Regions from separate parts of the Homo sapiens genome. Here regions 2 and 3 are each linked to region 1. Evidence: promoter capture Hi-C in human tissues and cell types (Jung and others, 2019). All regions are on one chromosome and are shown on one strand. The core of a region is centred on a gene start or on the middle of the fragment in contact, and the rest is flanking DNA. Distances in the headings are between cores, read along the strand shown.

The links. The method cuts DNA at HindIII sites, captures the fragments that hold promoters and counts their contacts. A contact is called where the count stands out against the background at its distance.
Region 2: a fragment that was not itself captured here is called in contact with the fragment with the promoter of SOX1 in region 1 in 2 of the 25 tissues and cell types used here (IMR-90 fibroblasts and dorsolateral prefrontal cortex).
Region 3: a contact is called between a fragment that was not itself captured here and the fragment with the promoter of SOX1 in region 1, in 2 of the 25 tissues and cell types used here (dorsolateral prefrontal cortex and thymus).

The regions. Positions count from the first base shown.
Region 1 is chr13:112,065,677-112,068,574 of GRCh38, reverse strand. It overlaps SOX1 (SRY-box transcription factor 1), which reads right to left and starts at 1,426. Exons shown (of 1, transcript NM_005986.3): 1 at 1-1,426. The coding sequence starts at 916. All of the region lies in intron 1 of SOX1-OT (SOX1 overlapping transcript), which reads right to left. The HindIII fragment of the contact is 28,986 bases long and covers 1-2,898 here.
Region 2 is chr13:111,454,639-111,457,536 of GRCh38, reverse strand. No RefSeq gene overlaps it. Among named protein-coding and RNA genes, the nearest start is that of TEX29, 140 kb to the right of the region's middle. The HindIII fragment of the contact is 4,337 bases long and covers 1-2,898 here.
Region 3 is chr13:111,505,314-111,508,211 of GRCh38, reverse strand. No RefSeq gene overlaps it. Among named protein-coding and RNA genes, the nearest start is that of LINC02337, 89 kb to the left of the region's middle. The HindIII fragment of the contact is 4,579 bases long and covers 1-2,898 here.

The DNA of each region.
Region 1 (2,898 bases), core at 177-2,676:
CGGCCGCCGCCGCCGCCGCCGCCGCCACGGCCGAGTTCTGGTGCGCGCCGCCCGCAGCGGCGGCGGCGGCGGCCGCGGCGCCGTAGGGGAGGCCGCCGTAGCCCGAGGGCGACGCGCTCATGTAGCCCTGCGAGTTGGAGATGGGGCTGTACTGCAGCGCGCCCATGTCGTAGCGGTGCATGGGCTGCGGGTTGTGCGGGTGCGCGTGCGGGTGGTGCGGGTGCGGGTGCGCGGGGTGCGCGTGCGGGTGCGCGCCGCCCGCGCCCGGGTGCTGCCCGTAGGCCAGCTGCGCCTCCTGCATCATGGCCGCGGCCGCCGCCGCCGCCGCCACCGAGCCGGGGTAGGCGCCGTTGGCCCAGCCGTTGACGTGCGCGTAGCCGCCGCCCGCCGCGCCGCCTGGGCTCTCCAGGCGCTGGCCCACGGCCGCCGCGCCCACGCCCACGCCCACGCCCATGGCCACAGCCGCGCCGCCGCCACCCGCGCCGGCCGCCAGGAGCCCGCCGGCCAGCGAGTACTTGTCCTTCTTGAGCAGCGTCTTGGTCTTGCGGCGCGGCCGGTACTTGTAATCCGGGTGCTCCTTCATGTGCAGCGCGCGCAGCCGCTTGGCCTCGTCGATGAACGGCCGCTTCTCGGCCTCGGACATGACCTTCCACTCGGCCCCCAGGCGCTTGCTGATCTCCGAGTTGTGCATCTTGGGGTTCTCCTGGGCCATCTTGCGCCGCTGCCCGCGGGACCACACCATGAAGGCGTTCATGGGCCGTTTGACCCGGTCCTGGTTGGCCTTGGCGCCCCCGCCGCCGCCGCCGCCCCCGCCTCCGCCCCCGCCGCCGCCCGCCCCGGCGGGGCCCGAGAGGTTCGTGGGGGCCTGGGCGCCGCCGGGCGAGTGCAGGTCGGTCTCCATCATCATGCTGTACATCGGGGCGGCTGGCGGGTTCACCGGCACCGCGAGGAGAGGGCCTGGAGCATAGACGGCCGGGGTGGGAGGGAGACGGAGAGGAATTCAGACGGAGTGAGACGGGGGCGGGGGGGTCCTAGCGGAGAGAAGAATGGGGAGGGGTGGAGGCAACGACAACAAAAAAAGGCAGAAACACACGCACTCGGCGCCGGTTCGGCTCGCAGGTGGAAAGTTTCTCCTGATGCACAAACCACTTGCCAAAGAGGCCGACGGTCGGGGTCGCCGTCTTCGCCGCCACCGCAGCCCAGGCGCCCTCGGCGGAGCGGTGCAAACAGGTGCAGTCGTGGCCAAGTTGCAGCTCCGCTTTTGGGGCCGGGAGCGGTGCGCTGGGCCCGGCCCGGGGTGTGCTGTCTCCTCGCCGGCCGCCGCTGCGCGCTGTCTCCTTCCTCCTGCGCTCGGTCCTCAGCGGCCTCCAACTCGGAGGCTGCAACTTCTAGCAGGGCGGCGCGCCGCGTGCGCTGGGCATGTGCTGGTCCCAGGTGCCCGGGGGAAGCCAGGCGCCAGTGGCGGGGGGGGGGAGGCGCAGGGGGGCCTGCAGGGGGCGATTACGGTGCAGCCAGGGAGGGGCCCGGGGACAGCGGGAGGAGCGCGGGCTCGCGGAGAGGGCCGGAGAGCCGGGGCCGCCGAGCCCGGGATGGGCTGCCCGCTGCCTGCCCGGGGCCGTGCGCTCGGAGCGGAGGCGCACGCGGGGCCGGCGGCGCGCGGGGCCCAGCAGCCATACGCCGGGCCCGGGCTGCCATTAAATGAGCGCGCCGCGGCCAATGGGAGCCGGCGGCGGCGGTGATTTGCATGGCGCGCTGGCGAGTGACGTGGGGAGGGAGTAGATACACTGGGCGCGGGCGGCGGAGCGGGGAGGAGGGGAGGAAGGAGGGGGAGCAAAGCAGGAAGGAGGGGGGAGGAGGCCCGGGAGGGGGTGACAGCCACACCGCTTCCTGAGCGCGCGCGCGCGGCGGCGGCGGCGGCGGCGAACCCCGAGCTCGCCCTCCTCGCCGCTCCCCGCCCGCGCGTTCCGAATGATTAACGATTGGGTTGAAAAGCGAAGACTAAGAAAGGATCGTCGTGGGGTGGGGGGAGGAAACGCAGCCCCTGGCCAGGTTTAAACGGGCGCAGTGGAGACCCAGCTCCTCCTCTGCCCCCGCCGGCCAACTCTGTGCCTGCAGGGAAGGGGAAAGTTGAGTGCGGGGCTGGCACGTCGCCCTCAGTTCCCCCGAGTGCTGAAAAGGAGGGGCGCTCCCTTGGACGCAGGGGATACCCTCCGAGGGCCCCTGCAGGTTCTCTGCAAGGATCAGGCGGCTCAGCCATCCCCCGCCCTGCATCCGTTCTCGGCCGCGGCGTGCACTGAAGTTCGCCAGTGCCCGCTCTTGCAGCGAAGGCCTTCACAGTCCAGGCCCCACAATTCGGGTAAAGGGGGAGTATTTGTGTGGGCATGGCTCCATAGCTTCGTTTAGTATCAGCCCTAAACTTTTGTGGGGAGGAGTCTTTCAATGAGCCCGGGGCCATAGTCACGCACTCTTCCCAACCCGGATCTTCTTCCTCTGGAAAAGGAATTTCTAGGAAGGCCGAACACAACAAGATCTATCTGGAATCTAGTTCCTGAACAACAGTTGAAAAAGTTTGTTGAATCGCAAAATAATGATATGGCGCACGCTTTTCTGGAGTGAATTTCCCACGAGCTGGTTGCCTAAGAACGGAGAAAACTGCGTGAACTGCGCGGGGCCACATAAACCGAATGAAAGGCGGGGCCTCAGGACGGGTCTCAGCCGCCGGTCTGCGTCATGCAAAGGAAAGGCCTGGCTCGTGGAAAGAGTAAGGCATTCACCTGTGGTTATCATTCTTAAACCTCAAAGTGGCTTTGATTTGGGAACGTGAAAGAGATTTTCAAACGCAGTCTCAAGTAGCATAGCGCTCACACTACCGTTTCCACCAGACTGATCTGAAAGTGG
Region 2 (2,898 bases), core at 242-2,741, 610 kb after region 1:
ATCCCAAAAACACTAATTCAGGGTCTCTGCAAGTGGTGTAGATGCTGCAAAGAAAAGAATGAGAGGAAGTCTAACAAAAATGTTATGGAATAAGCTCTCCATCTCTCCACTTTCCCTGGAGTTAAGAGCTTCCTGGGAACTCACACAACTGTAGATTTAACTCCATGTATCAGTGGAGAATTGTCCTGATACCGACTTTGACTGATAGCATCTATCTCTGATAAAGGGTGCACTTCAAGGTACAGTCAGCAGTTACACAGAGACAGAGGCAAGAGCCCTTTCTGCCCCATGAAACCAGGGTCACTGGGGGTAGACAAGCGGGACATCAACTGTTGCTTAAATTGTTGACTTTTCATTTGTGAGCTCAGGGGACAATATCCTCTCGTTTATCATTTGGTGGAATCCACGATGCATTTGTAAGTTGCATGCAGTCATTTGCTGCATCCCAGCGCCAGGCTGGTGGAAATGGGGGAATGGCAGCACGTGCCAGACACCCCAGGCCAGCGTCCGGGATGAAGCCTGCTCTCAGGGAGCATGGCTCCCTCCTGTGGGTCCCCCTCACCATATGGCAAAAGCTTCCTGGGCGGCTTCTTCCACACTCGCTGGAGGTTCTGCAAGGGAGGCTTTGCCCACATTGCGGTCACCATTGAAAGAAGGCCTCCAGGCACAAGTCTCATCAAAGGCTTCCATACACAAAGGTCTCCATTTTGCATCCTGTATTCCCCTCTTGAGAGGAAATCAAATTATTTCACCGTTTCTTGCATGTAGGTTCAAAGACTGGTGCCTGACATTCCAGAGCCTCCCTTGGTGCAACTCAGCTTCAGGCACGTGGTACCTCTTGGCACCAAAAATGAAGGAAGCCTCCACAGAAATGGGTGGAAGTGGAGATGTCGCAACACACTTAGGCACGACACTGCTGAGACAGGCACACAGTGACAGCGATAAAGGGAAAGACACCAACATAAAAGAGTGTATATGGCAGTGGCTCACCCAGAGCCCACCAGGAAGGAGGCGGCAAAGAACAGAACTGCCAACAGCCGAACAAGGAGGTGTCGGCCGTGCTGGGTCGTTTCTGTAACTCATTTAACAGCCTTTGCTACGCGTCAGAAACACCTCGGAGGGCCCTCAATAAATGCTTCCTGGATGAAGATGGCCTCCATGCAAAAGCTCAATCATGCAACTACATTTTTAAAACCCAGATGCATTTCAAAAAAATGAAATTTCAACACTGAACTACATGTGCTTCTGGTAATCATGTCTTGTTCCAAATACTGTGAAAGCATTGAAAAGTTTCAGCCTCAAACAAATAGTATTGAATGACCTTTGAGGATCAAAACATGAGTGCCTTTCTGCTCCACCATAATCTGTACAGGAGAAACTACAAGTTTCTGTACTGGATGTACAGTAATCTAAATATTTTGATGGGGTGGGGAAGGAAAGTGAAAGAAAAGTACCCTTTATTGAGTGCACCTGATACATCAGGCCCTGCTCTAGATGCATTAAATACATTGTCTCACTAAGGTTCTGCCTGAGGCATTTCTCTAGCGTTTTTTGGGGGAAATGGAAGAATATATTTTTATTGAAATATAATTGGCATACAATAAATGGCATTTACTTAAATTGTGTGATTTGAGGTTTGACATAAACATATGCCTACGAAACCATCACCACAATCAAGATAGCGAACACGTCCATCAGCCCAAGCTTCCTCATGCTCCTTCATCATCCTTCCCTCTCTCCCTCCCATAGGCCCCTGCCCTACTTTGTCACTGTAGATTAGTTTACATTTTCTAGAATTTTATATAAATGAAAGAATAAAGGATGCATCCTTTTGCCTGACTTTTGCTCAGCATGATTATTCTGAAATTCATCCATGTTGTTGTAAGTATCAATATTTATTCCTTTACATTCCTAAGTAGTATTCTATTGTACATGTATTAGTCTGCTTTGTGTTGCTATAAAGGAATACCTGAGGCTGGGTAATTTATAAAGAAAACAGGTGTAATTGGTTCACAGTACTGCAGGCTGCACAAGCTTGGCACCAGCATCTTCCCGGCTTCTTGAGGAAGTCTTAGGAAGCTTCCAATCATGGCAGAAGGCAAAGAGGGAACAGGTGTGTCACATGGCAAAAGAAGGAGCATGAGAGACGGGGGAGGAGGTGACAGACTCCTTTTAACAGCCAGCTCTCCTGTGAACTAATAGAGTGAGAACTCACTCATTACCATGGGAAGGGCATCAAGCCACTCATAAGTGATCCACAACCATGACCCGAACACTTCCCAGTAGGACCCACCTCCAACATTGAAGATTACATTTCAACATGAGGGGTGCTTGAATTGTTTCACTTTGGGCTATTACAAATACTGAGCATTTGGCTGGGTGTGGTTGCCCACATCTGTAATCCCAGCACTTTGGGAGACCAAGGTGGGTAGATCACCTGAGGACAGGAGTTCAAGACCAGCCTGGTCAACATGGTGAAACCCCCACCTCTACTAAAAATATAAAAATTAACCAGGCGTGGTGGTGGGCACCTGTAATCTCAGCTACTCAGGAGGCTGAGGCAGGAGAATTGCTTGAACCCAGGGGGTAGAAGTTGCAGTGAGCAGAGATCATGCCATTGCACTCCAGCCTGGGTGACAAGAGTGAAACTCCATCACAAAAAAAGAAAAAAAATGCTAAGCATCCATGTACAAGTCTTTGTTTGGACATACAAGGTTTTTTTTGTTGTTGTTGTTTTGTTTTTGAGTAAATACCCATAGGTGGAATGGCAACCTTATGGTAGGTGTATGTCTAACCACTTAGGAAACCACCAGCTCCTCATCTGCATATCTTCTTTAAGAGTCCCTTTGATAGTCTAAATACATGTTCTTTATTAGACACATGGTTTTCTCCTAGTCT
Region 3 (2,898 bases), core at 161-2,660, 560 kb after region 1:
GTCTGGGTCAAAAAGCCATGATCCCAAAAGATGCTGATGTGTGGCTGATGTGGTTCTCTCCTGGGATCTGGTTTGGCTGGTGACGAATAGATGTTATTCTCTTGATGGACCAAGCTTTTGTTGTGGGTCGGGGCAAACCAAGAACATAAAATGAGCAAAATTGACAAATAAGGAATTCAGCCCCCGAAGGTGCAGTGAATCTCTTGATACCATCAGTAGTTAACCAGAGACCTGAGCACCGAGGCTGGGGGGCAGGTCAAATGACTGGGGAAGTCAATGAAAAGTGGTTTCCGTTATTTATTTTGCCATATTTTTTCCCATTGTGAATAATGTCACCTTGTATTGTATGAAAATAAAAGCACAGAATTTCCTCAAACAAAGGCTGCTGGTGGTCTTTCCAGGAGGAGGGATCCACGCTGTGGAGCCTATGCCCACATTCACTCACCCAGCCACCAGCACCCCCATTCACTCACCCAGCCACCAGCACCCCCGTTCACTCACCCAGCCACCAGCACCCCCGTTCACTCACCCAGCCACCAGCACCCCCGTTCACTCACCCAGCCACCAGCACCCCCGTTCACTCACCCAGCCACCAGCACCCCCGTTCACTCACCCAGCCACCAGCACCCCCGTTCACTCACCCAGCCACCAGCACCCCCGTTCACTCACCCAGCCACCAGCACCCCCGTTCACTCACCCAGCCACCAGCATGGGGTTGTTCATGGTTTCAGCATCTGCAGAAAGGGGCTGTGCTCAGGGAGATGAGGAGCCCCACAGTCCATCCCAAACAAAGGCCTAGGACATTAGGCTCAGAAGGGAAGTGAGGGTGAGGGTGGAGGCTGAGGCTGGAGGGATGAGGTGAAACTGGCAGTTAAAATGGGTTTACAGATGGGTTGTCCCTAAGCCACCCATGCTGCCTGATTTTCTTGCCATGAATCCAGCCAACACATATTTATTTGTTGGGGTCACAAAAGTTCAGGCCTCATTTTTGTCTCTTAAGTGTCTTGCAGTTGAGCAGGGAAGCTGACTAAGTATAGCAGCTATGGCAGCGCAAAAAGTAAGAGATTCTGGGACCGAGGTACAGGATGTGATAGAAACTTGGACAAAGCGCACACGCGCAGTGCAGGCTGTCCCTGGGGGGACATTCGCATGGAGGCTTGGGTGAAGGGCACACATGCAGCCTGGGCTGTCCCTAGGGGGACACTTGCTTGAAGGCTTGGAAGGGCAAGCAGAGGCCGTCAGGTTAGTGGGGGTGCTGCTGGCACCTGATGGCAGGGCAGCACCTGTGAAGGGTTGGAGAAGAGGCAGATGGTGCCCTCAGGGGCCCACTGGGCACTCAGACATCCATCCACTCTCGCTCACAGCAGTGATGCTCACAGCTGCCCAGAGAAGGATACAACGCAACCATCCGTGGAGGAGGGGATGGGCAAAACATGCTCCATCCACACACTGGAGTCCTCCTCAGCCCCAAAGAGGAAGGGAGACAGGCAATATATGCTCCATCCACACACTGGAGTGGCGGAGACCGAGTTGAGAAGGTCACAGAGCTCCTTCCTTGTGTTTGAAATGAGCGTTACTTGCCAAAGGTAGGTGGGACGGGGAGCAACATGGCCACATTTGTGTTTTCACCGAGTGGCTCTGACTCCTGGTGGAGGACTTGCTGCAGCGGCCCAGCCTCCCAGGTGCTGTCAGAGATGGGGATCCCCCGAATTGTGCAGTGGAGTCCTTGAGGAGGGCAATGGTGCAGGGATGGAGGGGTCACCCAGATTCCAAATACAAATACAACACTCTCATCAAGAGCTGCCTATGTGCCGGGCACTGCATCCTCCCCGGACAGCATGTGTGCCCTAGAGACAGATGAGGACAAGGGTTCAGTGCAGGTCACAGCTGCATGTGCTCATGGAGGCAGCACCAGCAGCCACCTACACCCCCAGGCAGCAGATGCCCTGAGGCCTTCAGCTCTCCAGATGCAAAGGCAGGAGGGGATCCGCCTTCCAGGGCCACAGCTCCACGCCCTGAGCTCAGAGACTACAGAGGCATGGTTTATTTCTGATTGCGTATTTTGTTTTCATTGACCTCTGTAATATATATATATATATATATTTTTTTTTTTCCCTGAGACAGAGTCTCGCTCTGTTGCCCAGGCTGGAGTGCAGTGGCACGATCTCCACTCACTGCAACCTCCACCTCCTGGGTTCAAGCGATTCTCTTGCCTCAGCCTGCTGAGTGGCAGTGATTACAGGAGCATGCCACCATACCTGGCTAATTTTTGGATTTTTTTAGTAGAGACAGGGTTTTGCCATGTTGGCCAGGCTGGTCTCGAACTCCTGGCCTCAAGTGACCTGCCTGCTTTGGCCTCCCAAAGTTCTGGGATTTTTTTCAATATTTTTCAAAGTAATCTGAGAGCCTGTAGGACAATGATGCATTCTAGTTCACCATAGTCTTCAATAGTTTCTGTTGGCATTCATCAAGAATAAAAACCTAGGAGAGGCAATGATCTGATGTTTTAATCCCAACGTTCTATAGGGGAGGGGAACAAGACAGGAAGATGAGCTGACGAGAAGCTCCCTAGGGGCGTGCAGTGCTGGGAGGCCACGACATCGGTGTGCATGTCCTCAGCGTTCTCAATGATCCTCTTCGCCGCAAAGGCAAAGAAGAAACGGGACAGCCTCCCCACCACTGCCCAAACACAGAAGGCTTCATGGGTGTATGCGTGGACTTTGCAAGGTGCCAGGAGAGCCACACCCAAAGATAAAAGAGTCCGACTTCTGACGTCTCCCAGATGTAGGGACCCTCGAGAAGAACAAATGCGGCTCAAAGAAAAGCGTGTGGTGTCTGTGGATGTGAGGAAGGGGGCAGCACGGATTTGGAGCTGGACAGCTCGGGATCCAGCGCCTC